Regions from separate parts of the Homo sapiens genome. Here region 2 is linked to region 1. Evidence: promoter capture Hi-C in human tissues and cell types (Jung and others, 2019). All regions are on one chromosome and are shown on one strand. Each heading gives the region's core, a stretch centred on a gene start or on the middle of the fragment in contact. The rest is flanking DNA. Distances are from core to core; before and after follow the strand shown.

Evidence for each region. Contacts are between HindIII fragments. The study calls those that stand out against the background at their distance.
Region 2: a fragment that was not itself captured here is called in contact with the fragment with the promoter of ANXA6 in region 1 in 1 of the 25 tissues and cell types used here (liver).

The regions. Positions count from the first base shown.
Region 1 is chr5:151,156,529-151,163,001 of GRCh38, forward strand. ANXA6 (annexin A6) reads right to left here and starts at 1,251. Exons shown (of 26, transcript NM_001155.5): 1 at 1,152-1,251. RefSeq lists an enhancer at 1,412-2,268 and a silencer at 2,064-2,123. The HindIII fragment of the contact is 14,536 bases long and covers 1-5,552 here.
Region 2 is chr5:150,557,138-150,563,649 of GRCh38, forward strand. NDST1 (N-deacetylase and N-sulfotransferase 1) reads left to right here. Exons shown (of 15, transcript NM_001543.5): 15 at 1-1,074. Among named protein-coding and RNA genes, the nearest start is that of NDST1, 52 kb to the left of the region's middle. RefSeq lists an enhancer at 1-140. The HindIII fragment of the contact is 9,022 bases long and covers 721-6,512 here.

The DNA of each region.
Region 1 (6,473 bases), core at 1-2,500:
CATGTTTTGGGCAAGGGGGAAGGAATAATGGAGGGAAAAGGGCGGACTCTTGGGGGGAAACCAGAGTCCTTTCACAAACCCGGGAGCCATATGTCCAAATTTGGAATTGTCAGAGAAGACCCACTAGAATCTAGGGAAAGGAAGGAGGAGGCAGGAAGCCGTGGCCAGATTAGTTGTCCCAAAGGACCTCCTGCCCTTTCCCCTTGTAGGGCCTACAAGGGTTGTGCCAGGCTTCCCAAATCTATAATCAAGACTCCCAAACCTGCAATCATTCCATACAGCTGACAAATAAATCAGTTTTCAAAGCCATTGTTTCCTTTGAAAGAGACTGGGTTTCTCAACTATGGACTTGGAGAAGGAAATCCAGGCTCAGAGAGGGAAAGCCACCGCCCAAAGTCACACTGCAACAGGGGCTGGGATTCCGATTCAGGGTATTTTGCTCCCATGCTGGTATATGGGGAATTATTTGAAGCCCCCAAACTTTGGGAAGGCCTAGACCGCTTAGGGGATGCAGAAAGAAGGGTAGTGCCCCTGCCTCACCATAGGAGGCCTCGGAGCCCCGTTGGGAGACTGCATTCATAGACAAGCAGTGGCCCAAAGGGGATGGGGTCCAATGAGGCCCTGAGGTATGTACGACCGGACGTTCAGCTCTCTGCACGCAGGCAGCCCTCCCCCGACACCACACACAAGCCATTTTATAAGCAGCTGGAGGGTCCAACGCTCTTGCTCTCAGTCTTGGGCCTCAGCCACACCCTTCTCTGCGGGTCCTTTGACTGGCGTCCAGCTGACCCCAACCCCGGACCTTCAAAGTCTCTTGAGCCCCCCCAAATTAAGGCCGGCAGGACCAGCCCCTGGCTCAGCTCCGGCGCCCAGGACCCTCAACCAGACCCTCTGCAGCAACGGGACTCCCTCCCCTCCCCCTAGCCAGGGCGCCCTCCGCCCGCGCCTCTCCGCCCCGACCCCAGATTTGCTCCGCTGCGCTCCCCAGACACACCCAGTCTGCGACACTCTCGGGTTACCGCGCCCTCCCGTCCCTGCTCCTGGCGGGGGGTACCCATCAGCCGATGACTGGGCGCTTATTTCTTGTGTCCCTGCAGCCCCCGGGAAGGGGTTCCCAGAGCGACTCCCCTCTCCAGCCTCAGCCCACTCACCGCGCAGCGGAGGCCTCGGGTCGCAGACGGACGCACGGGCGCAGGGACTCGAGGACGCAGCGCTCGCTGGATCGGAGCCCGTTAGCCCAGCAGCAACCGCAGCGCGGGGCGGACCGGGAGGACAGCCGTGGGCTCCGAGCCGGACACGTGGCGCGCAGAGGCCAATCCGGCGCGCCCGCCTCCCTCCTCCACCCCACCCCTCTAGCTCCTTAGCTCTTGGAATCTTAGAATGTCACTAGCCCGAGGGGCTTGCCGGGAGAACCTCCTCAGTTTCCAGCCCCCGGATCTGAGACTGAGAAGGATTAGGGGCTTTGGCCAAGGTCACGCGGCCCTTCAGGGCTAGAAGTCAGGGCTCCTGACTCCGGGTTCTGGACACTTTCCCGCAAATTCTTATAAGTCGCCAAAGCTTTGTTGAGAAACAGAAAATTGAGGTTTGCCAGGGGCACTTTATCTGCCTGATCAGATTCCATGCCTCAACAGCCTCATTAGGTCGGTGACATTATTTACCCACTTTCAGGAGGAGAGCCCAGTCCAGTTCCTGGACCAAGGTCACACAAATAGTGGGTTGCGGAGGCAAGCTTCTTCGTGCTCTGGGAAGCAGGGAAGGCAGGCAGGGAGACCAGCAGTTGTAATCCAGCGCTAGAACAGGAAAAATTGATAAACTGAGAATACAGAGGAAACTGAGAATTATTGTCCCCAGGGGATTGGTAAGGAGAAGATGAGGAAGTTAGAAGAATTGGACAGATACCTGCGGAAAGTGTTCCAGGCAGAGGAAACTGCTGGAGCAAATGCTCCTAGCAGGAGGCCACCTGGCGCCTCCGAGGATCAGCAGGGGGGCCAGTGTGGCTGGAATGGAGTGAGTGGGAGGGAGAGGAGAGATAAGAGGGACCCAATCAGGTGGGACCTCCGGGGCCCTTGAAGGCACGCTGTCTTTTACTCTGAGTCAACTGGGGATCCATTGCAGGATATTGAGCAAAGAAAGGGTATTATTTTTGGGTAGATGAAATCCACACAACATAAAATTAACCATTTTAAAGTCAACAATTCAGTGGCATTTTGTACAGACACAATGTTGTGTATCCACCACCTCTATCTAGTTCCAAAATATTCTCTTCACGGAAAAATAAAACAGTATACCCACTGAGCAGTCACTCCTAACTTTCCCTTACCCCTCGTCTCTGGCAACCACCAATTTGCTTTCTGCTTCTGCGGATGTGCCTATTCTGGATATTTCATATACATGGAATCACATGAGATGCAACCCTTCTTGTCTGACTTCTTTCATGTGGCATTTTGTTTGTTTGTTTTTGTTGTTGTTTTTTCACTCTTGTCGCCCAGGCTGGAGTGCAGTGGCGTGATCTCTGCTCACCACAACTTCTGCCTCCTGGGTTCAAGCAATTCTCCTGCCTCAGCCTCCCGAGTAGTTGGGATTACAGGCATGCGCCACCACACCCAGCTAATTCTGTATTTTTAGTAGAGACGGGGTTTTTCCATGTTGGTCAGGTTGGTCTTGAACTCCCGACCTCAGGTGATCCACCTGCCTCGGCCTCCCAAAGTGCTGGGATTACAGGCGTGAGCCACCGTGCCTGGCCTCATGTGGCATGTTTTTGAAGTTCATCCACACTGTAGCATGTATCAGCACTCCATTCCTTTTTTTTTTTAGTTTCAGTTGGAGTTTTGCTCTTGTTGCCAAGGCTGGAGTGCAATGGCGTGATCTCGGCTCACTGCAACCTCCACCTCTCAGATTCAAGGAATTCTCCTGCCTCAGCCTTCCGAGCAGCTGGGATTACAGGCATGCACCACCACGTGTGGCTAATTTATTTTTGTATTTAGTAGAGATGGGGTTTTACCATGTTAGTTAGGCTGGTCTCGAACTCCTGACCTCAGGTGATCCACCCGCCTTTGCCTCCCAAAGTGCTGGGATTACAGGCATGCGCCACCGTGTCCGGTCCAGCACTCCATTCCTTTTAATGGCTGAATAATTTTCCGTTGTATAAGTACACTATAATTTGTTTATCCATCCATCTGTTGATGGATAGTGCATTGTTTCCCCCTTTTGCTGATTGTGAATAGTGCTGCTAATGAACATTTGCATACAAATACTTATTTGAGTACCTGTTTTCAATTGTCGTTGTGTATTTACCTAGGAATGAAACTGCTGGGTCATATAGTAATTCTACATTTAAGTTTTTGAGGAACTGCCAAACATTTTTTCAGAGTGGCTGCAACATTTTATATTCCCATCAGCCATGTCATGTATGAGGCTTTTAATTTCTCCATGTCCTTGCCAACACTTGTATTTTATTTTTTAAAAATTTGTACCCGGCCAGGCACAGTGGCTCATGCCTGTAATGCCAGTACTTTGGGAGGGCCGAGGTGGGTGAATTGCTTGAGCCCACGAGTTTGAGACCAGCCTGGACAACATGACGAAACCGCATCTCTACAAAAAATTAACCAGGGGTAGTGGCACATGCCTGCAATCCCAGCTACTGGAGAGGCTGAGGTGGGATGATCCCTTGAAGCTGGAAGGTAGAGGCTGCAGTGAGCCGTGATTGCACCACTGCACTCCAGCCTGGGCGACAGAGTGAGAACTTGTCTCAAAAAAACAAAAGTACAAAAAACTTGTGCTCTAGTCATTATGAAATGGCATCTATAATTGTGTTTTTGATTTGCATTTCCCTTCTGACTAATGATGTGGAGTATCTTTTTTGTGTGCTCATTGGCCACTATTTGTACATCTTCTTTGGAAAAATATCTAATCATGCTTTTTGCTCATTTTTAAATTGGATTTTTTGTCTTTTTTGTTGTTAAGTTATATGAGTTCTTTTTATATTCTGGATAAGACTTTTGTGTTTGTTTGAGACAGAGGCTCGTTCTGTTGCCCAGGCTGGAGTGCAGTGGTGCCATGTCGGCTCACTGCAACCTTCACCTCGTGGGTTCAAGCAATTCTTTCCGCCTCAGCCTCCCAAATAGCTGGGATTACAGGCACCTGCTACCATGCCCAGTTAATTTTTGTATTTTTTTAGTAGAGACGGGGATTCATCATGTTGGCCAGGTTGGTCTTGAACTCCTGACCTCAGGTGATCCACCTGCCTTGGCCTCCCAAAGTGCTGGGATTACAGGTGTGAGCCACCGCACCTGGCCAAGACATATTTTTTAAAGGGTCACTGAAGTCTCCTGTGTTGGAAATACTGAATACTGTTGGGGGAAGAGTAGAAGAAGGGGATCTGCTAGGAGATTTTGCAGTAATCCAGGCAAGAGACAGGCTGGTATAAATGCAGGTGGGGGAAGTGGTTGGAGATGGGATGTATTTGAAGGTTGAACATGATTTCCGAAGGATCAGGTGGGAGATGAGAAAGAGTCAAGAATGGCTTCAGGGATCCTGGCCTGAGCCACTGGAAGGATGGAGTTACCATCAACTGAAATGAGCAAGACTGCAGGGAAAGCAATTTTGGGAATTAGAAGTGGGGAAAAGATCAGGAGTTCAGTTTTTGACCAGTTTGTTGAACATTTCTATTAGACACCCAACAGGAGATGTCAAGTACGCAGTTGGCTAGTCAAGTCTGGAGTTCAAGAGATGAGATCCTTAAGGGAGAAGAGAACTAAATATGGAGTCCTAGTTCGGCAAAAGGAGTCAGGCTGGCAGGACCAAGGGAAAGCAAAAAGAGAAAGCAGATAAGCTATAAGTCTGCCTTTCTTCATGGCCCAGGATGCATAGCCCTCCTGTGCGAATAACTCACAATCTTATCTGCGCCCAGCTATTGCCAGACCCTCACCTGATAGAAAAATGCACGCAAGCTCCCTGCACCCTTGATGTTATCAGTACTGCACAAAGCCCTCTTCAGCACACAGCACAAGCACCATCCTATAAAATCCTTAGCCAGATTTTGTTTTCTTGCAGTTAGCTTCTGTTTTGCTAACTTGCCCGTTGCACCCTTGCAACGTATTTTCTTTTCTTTTCTGTTTTTCTTTTGAGATGAAGTCTCACTCTGTCGCCCAGACTGTAGTGCAGTGGCACTATCTCGACTCACCACAACCTCCGCCTCCCGGGTTCAAGCGATTCTTCTGCCTTAGGCTCCTGAGTAGCTGGGATTACAGGTGCGTGCCACCACACCTGGCTAATATTTGTATTTTTAGTAGAGATGGGTTTTCACCATGTTGATCAGGCTGGTCTCAAACTCCTGACCTCGTGATCCACCTCGGCTTCCCAAAGTGCTGGGATTATAGGCATGAGCCACCACGTCTGGCAGCAATGTATTTTCATACTTTCTCTAATAAATCTGCCTTTCTTTACCTACAACTGCCTTGGTAAATTCTTCTTACTGCCTGTACCGCCAGCCCCAAATAGTTGCTGATCACCCACGATGCTAAGGACCGAGTCTGAGACACTCTTATGTTACCATTTGGGGAGAGGCCGGACCCGGTGGCTCATGCCTGTAATTCCAGCACTTTGGGAGGCTGAGGTGGGTGGATCACTTGAGGCCAGGAGTTCAAGACCAGCCTGACCAACATAGTTAAACCCCATCTCTACTAAAAATACAAAAAGTTAGCTGGACGTGGTGGTGCATGCTGTAATCCCAGCTACTTGGGAGGCTGAGGCAGGAGAATCACTCCCAGGAGGTGGAGATTGCAGTGAGATGGCACCATTGCACTCCAGCCTGAGAGACAGAGTGAGACTCTCAAAAAATAAAATAAAAGAGTTGGGGAGAAGAAAAGAATTCAGCAAAGGTGACTGGGAAGGAGATTGTAGTAAGATGGGAGGAAACTACCCCAGGAGAATGTGGCAGCAAAGTGAAAAATAAGGGAGTGATCAGGTGTGTCAAATGCTGCTTTTAGGTAAAGTAGGACAAGGTCTACAAATCTATCATTGGGTTTAGCAATGTGAAAGCCAACTTATCTCTTGCTGTGAATTGCAGAATGTTGGGGGTAAAGGCCTGATGGGAACGGTGTAAGATAAAAAGCCTAAACTACTTATTCTGGGAGTTTTGCTGCGAAGGCCAGCAAGGGAATGAGGCAGTGTCTGGCAAGGGAATTGGTGTCAAGAGAAGGGCTTTTGTTTGATTTTTTTAAAGATTGAAGACATAACAGCATATTTGTATGCTGGTGGGAGTTATCATATAGAAGGTAAAAAAATTGATGGAGGAGAGAGAAGGGAGAATTCCTGCAGCAATGTTTGGAGACAGAATGGGCTGTAGTGTACAAATGTCAGGGCTATTTGTATTCTTAATTTGCAATAAAAGTAACTGAAATTTTTGATCTTTGCCCAAATTCAGCCCACGTGACTGAGGCAGGATTGAAAGCCAGATTCCCTTGACTGCAGAG
Region 2 (6,512 bases), core at 3,982-6,481, 600 kb before region 1:
CCAAGTGCCAAAACAGCAGAGGGGCCAGTTAGAGCAAGAGCTCTGGGGGGGCCGGAAAGTCTCCCTGGAGAAGGCCGTAATATCTGGGCCTTGGAAGGAAGGACACAGGGCTCTGGAAGGAGGAGGCTGCATGCCTGAAGGCTGGGCCTTCGACCCTGGGGATGGGCCACAGGGCACCAAACACATCATATGTCTCTCTCTTTCTATTTTGGGGTCCCAGGGTTTTCATTTCCTGGAGACCCGTGGTCTGTGTGCACTGGAGCAGAGCCAGGCTCTCAGTTGCAGCAGGGAAAAGCCTACATGGGGAACTGCCTCCCGCAAGCTGTGGTGTGAGAAGAGCCCTGGCTGGCAGCAGGAGCTGTGAAGTTTCATCCCAGCCGGGTGCATTTAGTAGCTGCCTGACCATCTTCCTCCCAGGCCCTCAGTTTCTTCATCTGTAGAATGAGCAGATAGGGGCCACAGCAGGGATTTTCACACATCAAAGGAGGCAGCCTCTGCTCTAGTTGATGTGAGGATGAGGGGGCGGCCTAGACCCCCTGCTGCCCAGGCCGTTGAGGCAACACTGGGTTCCTGGCTTGACAGCTGTGGGCTGGCTGCCCTTGCCAGCTCAGACGGCTGGCGAGTTTTCAGCTTCCCTAAGGGACTGGCATAGGGTTTTGTGGGGTCAATGCCAGGAACCTGGGGGAAACTGGATGCGTTTTATCCTAAGAAGTTCATCCCTCCTGCTCTTACTGTTTCCGGCCCTGGAGGAGAATGAGGGAGGAGAGGGTTTTCTATGACTGTGTTAGCTTTTATTATTAGCAAGAGGGCTCCTTTTGTAATTTGTGCATGAAATTCATGTCATTTCCTGGGAGAGGAGAGGGCCGACTGGAGAGGGTGGGGGGCACACTGGGGAAGCAGGCAGAGGTTTCCTTCCCTTGTAGGGGGGTGGGGAGAGTGGGGAGAGGGGGTGCTATCCAGTTCGCCTGATGAGGGCTCTCGAACCAGCCGTTTTGGGTTGTGTTAAAGGTGAGACCTTCCTCCATTAATGTACAATCTCGAACTAACTGCTAATAAAGTGGGGTTCTGTTTGTACACCTTGGTCCTGTCTGACCTTTTTGCAAGGCCCGCAGGGAAGGGTGGAGTAGGGGTGTTTGCATGCACGGCCAAAGCCCGCTTGTCCCTGCCACCTCAGGCATGCACACGTGCCCACATGTATGCACACACCTATACACATGGTGACTTGGTCAACGCAGATCATTTTCACTGGGTTATAAATGGAAGATTTCCCAGATACAGCAGAGGCCTATCCTAGGGCAGCCACAGGGGGCATCTCAGGTGATAGAAGCCCTCAGACAAGCTGGATTGCTCAGAAGCCCTGGGTGTCGGGCACTGGACCGAGAGGAGACTTGGGGGCTGGAACAATTTCTGCTACTAATGTATATTGTAGCTGGGGGCAAGCCACTTTTACTGTTTTATCCCATTTCCCTCACCTTTTAGACGCATGGAGGGAGTTGGACTCCATGGCCTCACTTGAAGAACTTGCCTAAAACATGCAGATTCCCAGGTCTACTTCCAGAGATTCAGCTCCAGCAGATGTGGGGTGGGGCCCAACATCTTTAAGGAGCCCTCCAGTACACTGAGGAATTTATAAGGAGCCCTCCAGTACACTGAGGCAGCCCAGTGTAACTCTGGCTCAGAGTGGGAAACTCTGACTCAGATCCATGGTTCCTATGGGTTCTAATTAATACGGAGAGCCCCACTGTCCAGGAAAACTTAGGGTAAAACAAATGACTGAAGCCCTCACAGCCTAATTGAGGGCCAGACTCGAGATTTGCCTGGAGAAGGAGAGTTCACAGGTAGGGGCCCAGGCCAGTGTCTGCAATGCAGGTGATCAGACATGCTCCTTCAGAATCCCCTTGGGAAGCTTTAAACAATATACATTCCTGGGCTCCCCCAAAATCTGCTCACTCAGAACCTCTGGGGTGGGACCCAGCACTGTGTACTTTAACAGACTCCTTGGTGTTCAGGGAAGTTTGGGAACACTGAATCAGGCCACCATGTTTGTCAGAGACGGTACCCAGAAATGTGCACAGCTTCTGAGGGACAGAGGAGGGGCATGCTGGGGACACAGCTGGGCAGTCCTGCTTCCCAGGACCCAGTATGTTCAAAGTGAAATACCACAGTGCCACCTCTGATGGCACAAGGGCAGCACCTGCAGAGCCCTCTTTGCAGTTCGTCAGCTGGGAGCTTGGTTTGGGTCAGGTGGCCCTCACCAGCAAGAACACAGCTGGAGGCTGCATGGACAAGAGCAGATCCAGAGGCATGGTGCAGAAAGGTGACTGTGCCAACTGAGGGGTCAGCCTGCAACAGGGATTTTTGAATTTACATACAGCTGAGATTCTGTTTTGAAAGAATCACTTAATTGAAAACCAGGTAAAGGTGGGGGTGCTCTGTGGTTGGAGTGGGAGTGAAGCTCTGGACTCTTCCCAGCTCACCTCCTCCCTGTCTCTCAGGCTATCTTGGAACCCTAAGATTTCTCAAAACACATTGTGAAAACCCAGCCCAGTTGCTTCCAGAGGTCCTAAAAGTCCTGCAGTTCTAATAGGCTGAATGAGTAGCAGCCCATCAGCCCCTCCTCACCCCCCACGGGGATGTCCACCCAGTAAATCTGGTGCCCCAGGAGTGGTTTGGGCTTCTAGAGGTGGGGAGTTACCTTGGAGAAGCCTGGATCATGCGTGTAGGGCAGTGTGTTTCACAATAGGAAAACGCTGGGAACAACCTAGATGTCCATCCACAGGGTCTCAGCTAGGTAACCTCCAGTGTATCCATTCACTGTAATGATGATTCAGTTGAAAGTAATGAGCTCAGTCTCCAAGCCCTGCCAGGGAAATTTCTATGACAGACTTATACAATGTGACCATCATGGAAAGAGAACACTACAGTTTGTATTTTTCCTGGGGTTGTAGATAGACGTCTCATATCAAACTGATACTAGGGGAGGAAAGACTGAGAAGGGGAACTTTCAAAGGAGACTTCAGCCTTGGCTGAAATATATATAAGACAAGGATAATGCATTTGCATATCATTTGTGGAATGAAAAAGTCTTAATGAAAAATAGAAATGGACAAAGCAGAAAGGGGGACTCCAAGCAGCTAGACTTACATGACGATGCGATGAAGGCCAACACTGCTTTACCCAGCCCTTAAGCTCCTATGGAGTTAGGATCTGGAGGAGGCCTAGGTGCCGGTGATCAATTTCTTGCCTGGCTGCATTTATCCTAAGCATTCGTGAAGACCCTGAGCTGAGGATCCTGACTTTCCTGTGACTGTAGGCCAGTCTCAGCTCCTCTCTGGCCCTGGGAGCTTAGCTTCCCCAAGCTGACAGACGGGGGAGCTAGGGTTAACATCACCATTGCTGGAACAAATTGACACCATGTCTCCCGATATGATGCAATGGGAAGGACCCAGTGCAACACCTGGGAAATTCCTAACGAAAACACGGGACATGAATCCAGCCAAGGGGAACAGACAGACACATCCGTATTGAGGGACATTTTGCAAAATAACTGGCTTGAACTCCAACAATGTCAAGGTGATGAAAGATACAGAAAAGCTGAGAAATGGTTCAGGATTAAAGGATACTAAAGAGATGTGGTAATCAAATGCCATGTGTGACCCTGGAGGGGTCCTGGACCATGAAACAATTAGCTATAAAGGATACCATAGGGACACCTAGCAGAATGTCAGGATGGACCGTGTGGATTAGATAATACTATTCAACCGATGTTCAATTTTCTGGTTTTGATTATTTTACTGTTATGTAAGAGTATCTAATGAAGTACATGTGAGATATTAGTTTTTTGAAATTACTTTTGCACCAACCTAATATTTAGGGGTAAAAAGGAAGAAATGGAACTGAATTTTGACTCCTGTTCTTTCTCTAGTGGTACTAGATGGTAGGTACTCATCAGATGCAGTCCAAAAGATGTCCACCAGGGGGCACTATTATCCTAGCCTCTCACAGTGTAGTCAGCGCGAATGCCTCCCGGGAAGACTGGGCTGGTGGTTAATGGTGGTGGGGCAATAATATTATCAATATTAACATCAATAAATTAAATAATATAAATAAAAAGTATTTCTTATCCTGTCAGGCAGACCCTCTGCTTATCAAGTGCTATCTTTAAAATTTTTTCTTTTTGTGACAGTGTCTCACTGTGTCACCCAGGTTGGAATGCAGTGATCTCGGCTCACTGCAGCCTCAAGCTCCTGGGCTCAAGCCATTCTCCCACCTCAGCCTTCTGAGTAGCTGGGATTACAGGCATGCACCACCACGCCAGGCTAATTATTTTGTATTTTTTGTGAAGATGGGGTTTTGCCATGTGGCCCAGGCTGGTCTTGAACTCCTGGCCTCAAATGATCCTCCTGCCTCAGCCTCCCAAAGTGCAGGGATTACAGGCATCGGCCACCTTGCCCGGCCTCTTTTAATCTTCATAACAATCCTCTGAGGTAGGTATTATCATTCCCATTGTATATTTGAGGAATTTGAGTTCAGAGAGGTTAAGTAACTCTGTCAGGATCACAGAGCTGGTAGTCATTGATCCATGAGACTCCACAGCCTGGAGTCCACTAGGCTGTCCTGCCCCCTGGGCCTGAGGCTGGGAATGTGTCCTGGCACAGGGAAATGCCATGACCATGAGGCAGAGTGGGGACAATTCCCCGAGCCTGGCTCTGCCCTTTTCAGGGCTGGGGACTGGGTGATCCTGGGAAGCTGTTAAAGGTGCCTAACAGTATGTGTACCTACAAATCTAAAACAGAAGTACAAACAGGGAATGGTGTGAGATGTATGTCTCCTTCCACTCCCTGACCTTTGTCCTCCAACTCACTTCTTCAGAGGAAACCACCATTAGCAGTTTCTGTGGATCTTTCCAGAAATTGTTTTACATATACAAACAGTTGCGTGAGCATGCACACCCTGCTGGTGTGTACCCTCAGGCTATTCTGCACTGTGCTTTTCCATGGGGGCCTCTGGTCAGTGGGTGGAGGGTATTTACTGCTCTGCATGGCAGCAGAGGGCTCCTCTGCATGGGTAATTGGTGGAGGGTGTCTGTTGCTCTGCATGGCAGCAGATGGAGGGCTCCTCTGCATGGGTACTTGGAGAAGCTCTGCTCTATTACACCTTTCAGGGAGTGGGGGTAAAAACTGGAGCTTGAATTCCTTGGCCTTTGCCCCATTCTGGGGTGTTCTCCCTTGGGAAGGAATAGGCTGTGCAGCACAGTAGTCAAAATATGCACAGCCGGGTAGATCTGGTTTCAAATACAGGCTCAGTGTTGGCTGTGTGACCTTGGTCAAGTAATTCATGTCTCTGAGCCTCAGTCTTTGCTTTTGTGAAGTGGGGATAGTCACAGGACTGAGGTGACAGAGATGTTGTGAGGAGTGAAGAGACAGTGTCTGGAAAGCCCTCAGCAGGAGCCTGCTACACAGTGAGTGCTCAGTAAAGTCTCTGCCAGTTCCTGGTTTCACACACATACAGACCCCATTTCTGAGCCTGAGCCTGGGGGTGGCACTGCCACCTTTGTCCTGAGGCAGATGAGGATGGGCTGAGGAGTCAAGTGGCCCACTCAATGTGGAAACTCATTACATTTGATTGTTCTTCCTGGGACCTTGAAATGGAAGTGGTGGGTGATCTGAGGCGCTGAGAATGACCCTTCAAAACACACACACATAACACCAACTTCACAGGAAAACAAGGAACATGAGAGACTGCTATAAGCAGCTGCACGTTAAAAAATCAGATGCTCTAGATGCAATGGACAAATTCCTAGAGACACACAAACTACCAAAACTGACTCAAGAGGAAATAGAAAATCTGAATAGGCCTGTAACAAGTCAGGAGATTGAATCGGTAATCAAAAAACTCCCAGCAAAGAAATGCCTACCACCAGGTGGCATCATTGGTGAATCCTACAAAACATTTAAAGGAGAATTAACATCAATCCTTCTCTTAAATTCTTACCAAAAATCTAAAGAGGAGAGAACATTCCCAACTCATTCTATGAGGCCAAGCATTACCTTGATACTGAAACTAAGACTCTACAAGAAAAGAAAATTGCAGGCCAGGCGTGGTGGCTCACACCTGTAATCCCAGCACTTTGGGAGGCTGAGGCAGGTGGATCACCTGAGGTCAGGAGTTCAAGACCAGCCTGGCCAACATGGCAAAACCCCATCTCTACTAAAAATACAAAAATTAGCCAGGCATGGCAGCATGCACCTGTAATCCCAGCTACTCGGGAGGCTGAGCCAGGAGAATCGCTTGAACCCAGGAGGCGGAGGTTGCAGTGAGCCAAGATTGCGACAGTGCAGTCCAGCCTGGGTGATAAGGCGAGACTCCATCTCAAAAAACAAAACAAAACAAAAAAATTATATGCCATGATCAAGTGGGTTTTATCCTAGGAATGCAAGGGTGGTTCAACATATGAAAATCAAAGTAATGTACCACATTATTAGAATGAAGGGGGAAAAAACCACATGATC